Regions from separate parts of the Homo sapiens genome. Here regions 2 and 3 are each linked to region 1. Evidence: promoter capture Hi-C in human tissues and cell types (Jung and others, 2019). All regions are on one chromosome and are shown on one strand. The core of a region is centred on a gene start or on the middle of the fragment in contact, and the rest is flanking DNA. Distances in the headings are between cores, read along the strand shown. Region 1 holds the start of WDR45B (WD repeat domain 45B). Region 2 has its middle 4.0 kb from the start of SECTM1. Region 3 holds the start of CCDC57 (coiled-coil domain containing 57).

Region 1 (3,210 bases), core at 481-2,980:
CCCTTCTACAGGTATAGCACACTTCACTAAAAAGAAGGCATTACAAACACCAGATGGTTGGAAACCACCCTCTGAGAAGGCTAGGCATCTCCCTTACCATCTCAGCAAAACTTTCTTCCGGAGAAACCCCAGCACACAACCCTGGGGAAGCTGGCAGCGCCCAGGAAGCCTGACTGGTCCCAGGGCATCAGGCATCAAAATCACTGAGAGGGAGTTCTTTCAAATATGTGTAATCCGGCCGGGCGCAGTGGCTCACGCCTGTAATCCCAGCACTTTGGGAGGCCGAGGCGGGTGGATCACCTGAGGTCAGATTGAGACCAGCCTGGCCAACATGGTGAAACCCCGTCTCTACTAAAAATACAAAAAGTAGCCGGGCGTGGAGGCAGGCGCCTGTAATCCCAGCTACTCAGGAGCCTGAGGCAGGAGAATGGCGTGAACCCGGGAGGAGGAGGTTGCAGTGAGTCGAGATCGCACCAGGCTGGGCGACAGAATGAGACTCCGTCTCAAAATGAAATAAATAAATAAATAAAATTGTCTTCACATATACGGGATCATACAGCACCTGCCTGGATTCTCTTCAAAAACAAAACTTCCAAAGCCAACATGTAAAGCCTCGCAGAAGCCTGTCTCGGAATAACGGACATTCCTTTTCCTCCCCATCAGGACCTTTGGGAAGCGCGCCCTTCAAATGGGAGGTGAGGAGGCAACCATCCGAATCCAGGTCCCGCCCGCCTCCCGCGGGAATCCGACCGCGCCGCCCCGGCCGCATCCCCCGCAGCTCCGAAGCACCTGCGGGGAAGGAGGTCACCTTCCCTGGGCGCTTTAAATCATCCAGTGCTTACACCTGGATTCCGACATGGGAAAAGAAGTAAGATTTCCCTCAAAGGCCTCCCTTAAGTCCTTTGACTCCACCAAACACGAAGAAAAATCCCGGGGAGTGGGGGTGGGGAGAGTGACATTTTCCGATGGAAACCGACGGGAAAGGTGAGACCTGCACCCCACCCGCGCCACTCGCCACCAGAGGCGTCGGAGACGCCGGCTCCGCGGCTCCAGTAAACCCAAGCGAAGTCAGCTCAGCCACGGGCTACCTACTAAAGACCCTGAAAGGAACAGGGGGCAAAACGGGGTTCTGGGCAGGGCGTCAATCACGCTGTGGGGAAAATCCCGATAACCGTGGAGCCCGCAGGGAGCCAGGGAACCCGAGTGGGCGTGGCGCGCGGGGAGGGGCGTCCGCGCAGGAGGCTGGGGTTCTGTGCCGTCTCCCACCGACCTCGACCTCGGCCCGGGACGGCCGGCTGGGAGCGGTCACAACCCGGGGGGTGGGGGAGCGCGAAAGGCCAGGAAGGTGGGAGCCGGTTCGGGCCTGGTCCGGACCCCGGCTCGGGCTGGGAGCAGCGGCGAGGGCCGGGGCCGGGGGCTTCGGAGGGGAGCTCGGGCGGGGCCGGGGTCCCGGGTGGAAGGCCTGGCCGGAAAGGGGCGCCCAGGAGAGGCCTGAGAGCCGGGGACCCCGGGCTGCGGGAAGGCCCGGCCGGGCAAGGCGACAGGGCCGCGCCTCCTCACCGTGGTCCTGGTTGAAGCCGGCGTAGAGCAGCCCGTTGCCGTGAGGGTTACACGGCAGGAGGTTCATGGCGCCGCCGTGCTGGGTCGCCGCTCCTCAGCGCTGCATGCCTCTCGCTGGGGACGGCGGCCTGGTCCCTTCGGGCCGGCGCTGAGGCCGCCGCGGCCGGAAGTGCCGGACGTACGTGCGTGCGTGCTGGATGTGCGTGTGTGCTGGACGTGCGTGCGTGCGTGCTGGACGTCCGTGCGCGCGCCCGCGCCCCACCAGGGAGCCTATGGAGCGCCGAGCGCATCTAACCGAAGCGAGGCGAGACGAGGCGAGGCAGGGCGGGGAGGGGCGGGGCGGGGCGAGGCGAGGCGAGGCGAGGAAAGGCGGGGAGAGGCAGGGCGGGCGGGGCGGGATGAGGCGGGGAGAGGCAGGGCGGGCGGGGCGGGATGAGGCGGGGAGAGGCGGAGCGAGGCGGGGCGGGGAGGAGGGGGCGGGGCGGGGCGGGGCGAGGCGAGGAAAGGCGGGGAGAGGCAGGGCGGGCGGGGCGGGGCGGAGGCGGGGAGGGGCGGAGCGAGGCGGGGCGGGGAGGAGGGGGAGGGGCGGGGCGGGGAGGGGCCAGGCGGGAGCGCAGAGCACGTTCGCGGGAGGGTCTGGCCTTGTCATGCGCGGGGTCGCCGCGGGAAGGAGGATGGCCCGTTGAGGGCTTGGCACGGATACCTGACGGTCGGAGGAAGGGGGGAGAGCCGGTAAAGGAGGCTGACCCAAAACTGAGGCCCGGTGCATCATCCCTCATGAGAGGCAAGCCCAGAAGCGCCACAATACTAGGGTCCCCCTTCAGGAGACAGAGACCCCCAGGACACAGAGGGCCCCCAAGTCACTCAGCCCCCCCAGGACACGCAGCTCCTGCAGGACGCAGAGGGTGCCCAAGACACACAGTCCCCAGGACAGAGACCCCCCAGGACACAGAGGACCCCCAAGACACGCAGTCTCCAGGACACAGAGGTCCCCCCAGGACACACAGTGCCCCCAGGACACAGAGGTCCCCCAGGACACAGCACTCCCAGGACACACAGCCCCCCCGGGACACAGAAACCCCCCCAGGACACAGCCCCCCTAAGACACACAGCCTCCCCCAGTACACAGAGTCCTTTCCAGGGCACATATTCCCCCAGAAGACACAGAGGTCCCCCTAAGACACACAGCCCCCCCAGGACACACAGACCGCCAGGTCACAGAGACCTTCCCAGGACACAGGGACCTTCCCAGGACACATAGCCCCCCAGAGGACACACAGCCCCCCCACGACACAGCCCATAGAGGACACAACCCCTTAGTACCCCACCTAAAGGACAGGTGGCCCTCACACAGCACAGCCCCCGCAGGACTCCGGGACCCTCAGGTCACATTGCTCACAGGGCACAGTTCTCAACTCTTAGGGTCAGGCTGCTGGGGGCATCCTGGTCACAGAGCTTTGTCCCTGGGCTTGGCTCATGCAGTGGATGGCTGTGGAGGCCTGAGTGCTGGCCCTCGTGTCTCTTGCCCAGGGAGTCCTCTCCACTCCCCCTCCTCACTTTCCTGTCCCCTCCTAGGCTCTCCCTGTTCCCTGCAGCACACCTGATCTCCTAGGAGGTCCTGACACTGTCCCCTCGCAGCCACCTGCCTCC
Region 2 (3,527 bases), core at 197-2,696, 310 kb before region 1:
ACCCGGCCGTATCTTTCCATTTCTATACAATGCTGGGATCAGGCATCTTAGAGCGGATGTGTGGATTCATTCACCCTCAGCCTGTCCTTGAATCACAGCCTCTGCTGTGCCAGGTGACATGTGGAGTTTCATTTCCTTTCTGTTCGAGGAATTTGTAGATTTCAGTTATGATTTTCTGTTTAACTCTCCAAATTATTCGGCAGCATATTCTTAAAATCCCCAAGGTCCTGGAGCATTTGCTTTTCTTTTTTTTGGAGACAGAGTCTTGCTCTGTCGCCCAGGCTGGAGTGCAGTGGTGCGATTTCGGCTCACTGCAACCTCCGCCTCCCTAGTTCAAGCGATTCTCCTACCTCAGCCTCCTGAGTAGCTGGAACTACAGGCACGTGCCGCCACGCCCAGCTTTTATTTATTTATTTATTTTATTTTTGGTAGAGACGGGTTTCACTATGTTAGCCAGGCTTTTTTTTTCTTGAACTCCTGAGCTCAGGCAATCCACCCGCCTCGGCCTCCCAAAGTGCTGGGATTACAGGCGTGAGCCACTGTGCTGGCGGCATTTGCTTTTCTTTGTAACTTGATTCTCTGGGTTCCCTTGCCTTTCATCCTTGCCCACCCACGTGACTGCAGCCTGTGGGGCTTCCTCCTAATGTCCCGAAGATAACTCGTCATCCTTGACCCCGCCGCCACCTCGGGTTCTAGTGGAGGATGTGGCCCGCCTGCCACCCCCACAGGCACCGGGTCCTCCAGGCCTCCTTGACCCACTTCCAACCCACCTGGGATGTCTGCGCGTTACCAGCCCAGATGCCTCTTGGAGCCTTCCACCTGCACCCCATCTCCTGTCCCAACAGGCTGGGCCCCTCCTCCCGGGCTGGCCAAGCCAGTACCTCCGCAGGGGCCGCAGGTGCAGCACCCTCTGTGGGGGAGCTAGGGGGATCGCTCCTCTGCTCTGCGCACTTTTATGAAAGGGCCTCTGACCCTCCCACTGTCCTGCTCACTCTGCCCGCGCACCCCCGGCCACCTGGGGGCCGCCCCCCAAAGCCCTCGGCCCGTGGACAGACTCGCAGCCTCCTGGGAGCCGAGCCAACCGGCCCCACAGATTTGTGCATGACTCAGTTGTACCCACTGCTCACTGGCTGGAAGGGTCTCACGGGTCCTTCCAACATGTAATATTCTCTGACTGTTGGGAGCAAGGGTCTCTGCAGGTGTCCCTCCTGTCAAGGTGTCAGTGGGGTAGGTTAGGTCTTTTATATACTTGTCAATTTTTTTTTTTTAAGACGGAGTCTCGCTCTGTCGCCCAGGCTGGAGTGCAGTGGCACGATCTCAGCTCACTGCAAGCTCCGCCTCTCGGGTTCACGCCATTCTCCTGCCTCAGCCTCCCCAGCAGCTGGGACTACAGGCGCCCGCCACCACGCCCAGCTAATTTTTTGTATTTTTATATACTTGTCAATTTGTATGGGCTTGAGCTATCAGTAATTAAGAGAGATAGGTTGGAATGGCCTCCTATGGTGGGGGCTTAGCAGCCTCTTCTTGTGGTTCTAGGAATTTTTAATCATATATTTGGAGGCTTTTTTTTTTTAAGAGATGGGGTCTCCTGTAGTTGACCAGGCTGGCTTGCAGTGGCTGTTCACTGGCAGGATCGTAGCTCAATGTACCCTGACCTTCTGGGCTCAAGCGATCCTCCAGCCTCAGCTTTCTGAGTAGCTGGCACCACAGGCAGGCACCACAGATAAAAAGTCTAAAATGTTTGCTTCAGTCTTTGTCGTTTTGTTGCTCTTGTTCTTGTCTTGTGCTAACCTAATTCTAATTTATCTATTTTATAATATTCGGAAGTTTTAAAATATGAGGCTAATTTTAAATTCTTACCCAGCATGTGTTTCTGCTTTTGGTGGAATCCACAACCCAGCTTGTTATTTTCCACCTGAAAAGGCTGTGCTCCTCGAACATCCAGTTATGTTGCCCTGAGCCCCTTCACTTGCCAATCTTCTTGGTATTTCTTTTGGGATTTCACTGTCTTTATAGCTTCACTTTATTTTAATTCTATTTATTTATTTATTTGGGGGGGATGGAGTCTCACTATGTTGCCCAGGCTGGAGTGCAATGGCACGATCTCACCTCACGCAACCTCCACCACCCGGGTTCAAGTAATTCTCCTGCCTCAATCTCCCTAGTAGCTGAGATTAGAGGCGTGCACCTGGCTAATTTTTGTATTTTTAGTAGAGACGGGGTTTTGCCGTGTTGGCCAGGCTGGTCTCTAACTCCTGACCTCATAATCTACCCACCTTGGCCTCCCAAAGTGCTGGGATTACAGGCGTGAGCCACCGTGCCCAGCTGTTATAGCTTAATTTTAGAAAGAATGGCATTTTTAGGGCTGGGTGCGATGGCTCATGCCTGTAATCCTAGCACTCTGGGAGGCTGAAGTGAGACAATCTCTTGAGGCCAGGAATTTGAGACCAGCTTGGACAACACAGTGAGACCCATCTTCACAAAAATAAAATAATGAGCCGGGCGTGGTGGCCAGTGCCTGTAGCCCCAGCTACTTGGGAGGCTGAGGTAGGAGGATCTCTTGAGCCTGGGAGGTCGAGGCTGCATTGAACCGAGATCAGGCCACTGCACTGTAGCCTGAGCAACAGAGCGAGACCCTGCCTCAAAGAGAGAGAGAGAGAGAGAGAAAGAGAGAAAGAGAAAATACTTTTAATAGTAATCCTTCCTAGCCAATGAGATAGGAATGCTGGGTGGTCATAGGAGAAATGAGAAATATCAAACAGTAATCTTGCAGAAAAGCAAGAAAGCAGCTGTTAGAATGAGCCACAGAAAGCAACTGTTAGAATGAGCCACGGAAAGCAGCTGTTAGAATGAGCCATGGAAAGCAGCTGTTAGAATGAGCCACGGAAAGCAGCTGTTAGAATGAGCCACAAAGGCAGGGATGAGCCCGGACTGATGAGACCCTCGACCCCACAAGCAGGAGAGGCTACGTTGGAGGAGGCTGGCCGGATCCACCGTGGCACTAGGCTTGACCTGTGCCCACCCCAGACCTAATTGCACACTGACTGCCATTCACAATCACGTACACACCAGCGTCACGGCAGATCCAACCATGCCCATATTTAGTATAAAAATATCTGGCACCCCAATTCTAAGAAATCGTCACCTTTTTCCTAGAAAATCTAATGATTATTCCACCCTCTAACTAGGAAAGCCCATAAAATAGAAACTCAGGCCTCGTTGTGTGTGACTCACTCTCGGAGCACGCCCGTGCCTCTCCTGTGCGCAGGCATTCACTTCACAATAAAAGCTTCTTGCCTTTTGTCTCATTCCTACTCATCCCGAATTCTTCCTCATGATGGTGTCAAGAACCTGGACACCGGCTGGCACTGGGGCTGGCATCTCGCCGGCATCTGCAGACCCTTCTCAGTCCTCCGGCCACAGAGCTGCTGCTTTCCGTCTGACTTAAGCGTCATGGCCGTGCCTGTCCCGGCCAGGAATCCTGTCAATGGCCGTGCCCAGCCCTGCTTGCTCTGCGGAGCCCTGGA
Region 3 (3,095 bases), core at 520-3,019, 440 kb before region 1:
TTCCCCACAAAATATTTATTATTTACAAAGGGAAGGACCCTAACTTTATGGACACACTTGGCAGACACCACCTCAGCCCCCAGGACGTGACTAGCACCAACAGCCAGGGGCATCCTGTGTCTCGTAAGACGCTGGGAAGGGCACAATTTCCCTGTTGAGGTTTTCTTGCCAAAAATCAGTAATATGAAATCAATTATGACAAAACATCAGAGAAATGCCCCCGAACTGGGGGGCATTTTATAAAATAGTGGACTCATCATTGGATCCTGGACCACGGTAAAGTCATCCATGAGGTAGCTGCTAAGCAAGAATAAATACTGGAGACCAGATCATGGGATGATACCAACATGAACGCCAGCGTCTACATGTTGCTGAATGAACTGTGGTTCTCTAAGAGGTCAGCATTCTAGGGGCTCTGGGCAAAAGGCACACGGGAAATCTGTGCTCCTTTTGTATCCTTTTTCTAAGTTACAGATAATTTTTTTTTTTTTTGAGACCGAGTTTCGCTCTTGTCTCCCAGACTGGAGTGCAATGGCGCGATCTTGGCTCTCCGCAACCTGCGCCTCTCGGTGTGGTACCCTACTTTGTTTTAACCTGACTGACTCTCTCTTAGCTGAGAGGGCCGGACAGACACCATTTTGGTTTCTTCGCTTGCAGCCCCTTGTCCCCGTCCCTTAAGGACATAACTGGGGCAAGCTGACTCCAAGCACATCCAGGAATGCGCTTACTGATAAAATACTGATAAGAAACTGGAGCAAGCTGTACCAGCAGCTCCTGGGAACGCGCTCGGTTGATGGTACCCAAAGCCCCTGCGTTTATCACTTTGTGATAATTTAAGCCCCTGTACCTGGAACTGTTTATTTTCCTGTAACTGTTTCTGTAACCATTTATCTTTTAACTTTTTGCCTATTCTGCTTCTGTAAAAAAATCGCTTCAGCTAGCCTCCCCTCCTCTATTTAGACCAAGGTATCAAAAGAAATCTAGCCCCTTCTTCGGGGCCGAGGGAATTTGCAGCTCTAGCAGTCTGTCAGTCGCTGGCAATACAGGACTCCTGAGTAGTCTCAGAGTGTGGCGTTCTCTCTATAACTCCCTCAGTTACAACATCGGGTTCAAGCGATTCTCCTGCTTCAGCCTCCGGAGTAGCTGGGATTACAGGCGTGCACCACCACGCCCAATAATTTTTGTATTTTTAGTAGAGAGGGGGTTTCACCATGTTGGCCAGGCTGGTCTCGAACTCCGGGCCTCAAGCAATCTGCCCGCCTCTGCCTCCCAAAGTGCTGGATTACAGGCGCGAACCACCGCCTCCGGCCTTTTTTTTTCCTCTCTTTTTTTTTTTTTTTTTTTAAACTCACAGACACTGTAAGGCTGCCTGGGCGCGGAGCCGTCCTTGCCGGCGGCGGAACCCGGGGAATTCTCCCGGGGCTGCGGGGCCCTGGTCGGCAGCGCCCACCGCCCCAGGTCACCCACGGGAGACCGAGGGAACGCTCCCGCTCCACGCGGCCGCAACCCCCGCCCCGCCCCGCCGCAGCCTCCGCGAGGGGATCCCCGGTCCGGGCCTGGCCGAGCTCTGAGGGTCGACCTCGCGCTCCAGGTCCCCACCAAAGCGCTGCGTCCGACAGGACGGCAGCTGCTGGGGTTTTCTACAGGAAGAGTGGTCGGAGCGGCGCCCCCCACGCCTCCCACGCCTCCCACGCCGCCCGCCCGCACCTCACCCTAACGCCCGCCAGCAGCGCTGGCCAGGTCCCGCCGCGTTGCCACAGCGACCGGGTCAGTCGGCCGCGTCCGGCTGCGCTCGGTGCAGCGCTCGGGTCCCGCCGACAGGAAACGGGGTCCCTGGCGCTAGGTTCCGGCCCCTCCCGCCCCGCCGGGTTCCGCGCTGCGCCCGGGTCCGAGGGGCGCCCCGGCCGACCCGACCACCGCCGCAGATCGAAGGAGGGAGCCCGGCCTCCTCACCGGTCAGCGGGGCGACTCCGGACGGGGCTCCGGGCTATGGGGACGGCGGGTTCCGCCGCGCGAGGCGCCCCCACCTTCGCCGCCCCCGGCCCGGCCGAGGGTCCCCAGGCGCCCGCTTCCTGAGGCCGCCCGGCTCGCGGTCCCGAAGGGTTGACTTGAGCTTTTGCCCTGAGATGAAGGGAGCACGGGGCGGCCGAGGCTGCCCGTGGGGGTCTGTTCGGGCCGGGGGCGCCACGAAGTCCTGCCTAAGGGTCGGCTGCGGCCACCGGGGCACGAGTTCCCGGCGCTGCCCACGGGCTCGGAGACCGGCGGGGCCCAGGGGCCGTGCGCGCGGTCGCTCAGACCCTGATTAGGGAACTGGGGGAAGGAGGGGGGTCGGGACCCACCGAGGCCCGAAGTCGCCCCCACCATCCTGTGGGAACAACATCCTCAGGCACAGCCATTCCCAACCATTCACATCCTCAGAAAAAGGCACGTGTCCGTATCCATCTGCGGATGGATGAACAGAGCCCGGCCCCGGGACAGAGCAGCCTGGCTCACCCGAACCCTCAGCCCGCAATTCTGCGTGGGAGTGGAGGGGGTGTTTGGTGTCTGGGAATTCCCCTGGTGGGGCAATAAGCCAGGGGTCTGGTGTCATCCTCCACCCACATTGTTAACACTGGATCACTCCTCTCCGTGCCGTGCCTGCAGCCCAGGCACCCTGCAGCCTGTCCTCCCCGAACCATGCGTCCTGGTAGAGCTGTCTCCCTCGCCCACAGTCCTCAGTCCCGCCTCACACACCAAACCCTCTTCTGCCTCAGGTCCTTTGCGCCAGTTGCCTCTGCCTAGACTTGGTTCCCTGGATGCCCCCTCCCCACCCCATGTGTATGTCCGGCTCCCTGGACCCACCCCCCACACTGTGTGTCTAGCCCCCTGGACCCACCCCCCACTCTGTGTCTAGTCCCCTGGACTCCCCTCCCCACCCCCTGTGTCTAGCTCCCTGGACCCCCAACCTGGCCCATGTGTCCAACTCCCAGGACCCCCCCACCCTGTGTCCAGCTCCCTGGTTTCCCCCACCACCCCATGTGTTTGGCTCCCTGTCCTGCTGCCTTCTCAGTGCTTGTGCACCCCCAGCCTCATCAGACTTGTCACTCTATTAGAAC

What was found. The method cuts DNA at HindIII sites, captures the fragments that hold promoters and counts their contacts. A contact is called where the count stands out against the background at its distance.
Region 2: a contact is called between a fragment that was not itself captured here and the fragment with the promoter of WDR45B in region 1, in 1 of the 25 tissues and cell types used here (dorsolateral prefrontal cortex).
Region 3: the fragment with the promoter of CCDC57 here is called in contact with the fragment with the promoter of WDR45B in region 1 in 1 of the 25 tissues and cell types used here (mesenchymal stem cells).

Annotation. Positions count from the first base shown.
Region 1 is chr17:82,646,714-82,649,923 of GRCh38, forward strand. WDR45B (WD repeat domain 45B) reads right to left here and starts at 1,731. Exons shown (of 10, transcript NM_019613.4): 1 at 1,561-1,731. The coding sequence starts at 1,627. RefSeq lists silencers at 1,184-1,233, 1,244-1,293, 1,894-1,963 and enhancers at 1,376-1,875, 2,254-2,323. The HindIII fragment of the contact is 22,392 bases long and covers 1-3,210 here.
Region 2 is chr17:82,336,035-82,339,561 of GRCh38, forward strand. No RefSeq gene overlaps it. Among named protein-coding and RNA genes, the nearest start is that of SECTM1, 4.0 kb to the left of the region's middle. The HindIII fragment of the contact is 4,127 bases long and covers 1-3,510 here.
Region 3 is chr17:82,211,073-82,214,167 of GRCh38, forward strand. It overlaps CCDC57 (coiled-coil domain containing 57), which reads right to left and starts at 1,770. Exons shown (of 19, transcript NM_001394669.1): 1 at 1,713-1,770. RefSeq lists a silencer at 1,311-2,230 and an enhancer at 2,181-3,095. The HindIII fragment of the contact is 18,649 bases long and covers 1-3,095 here.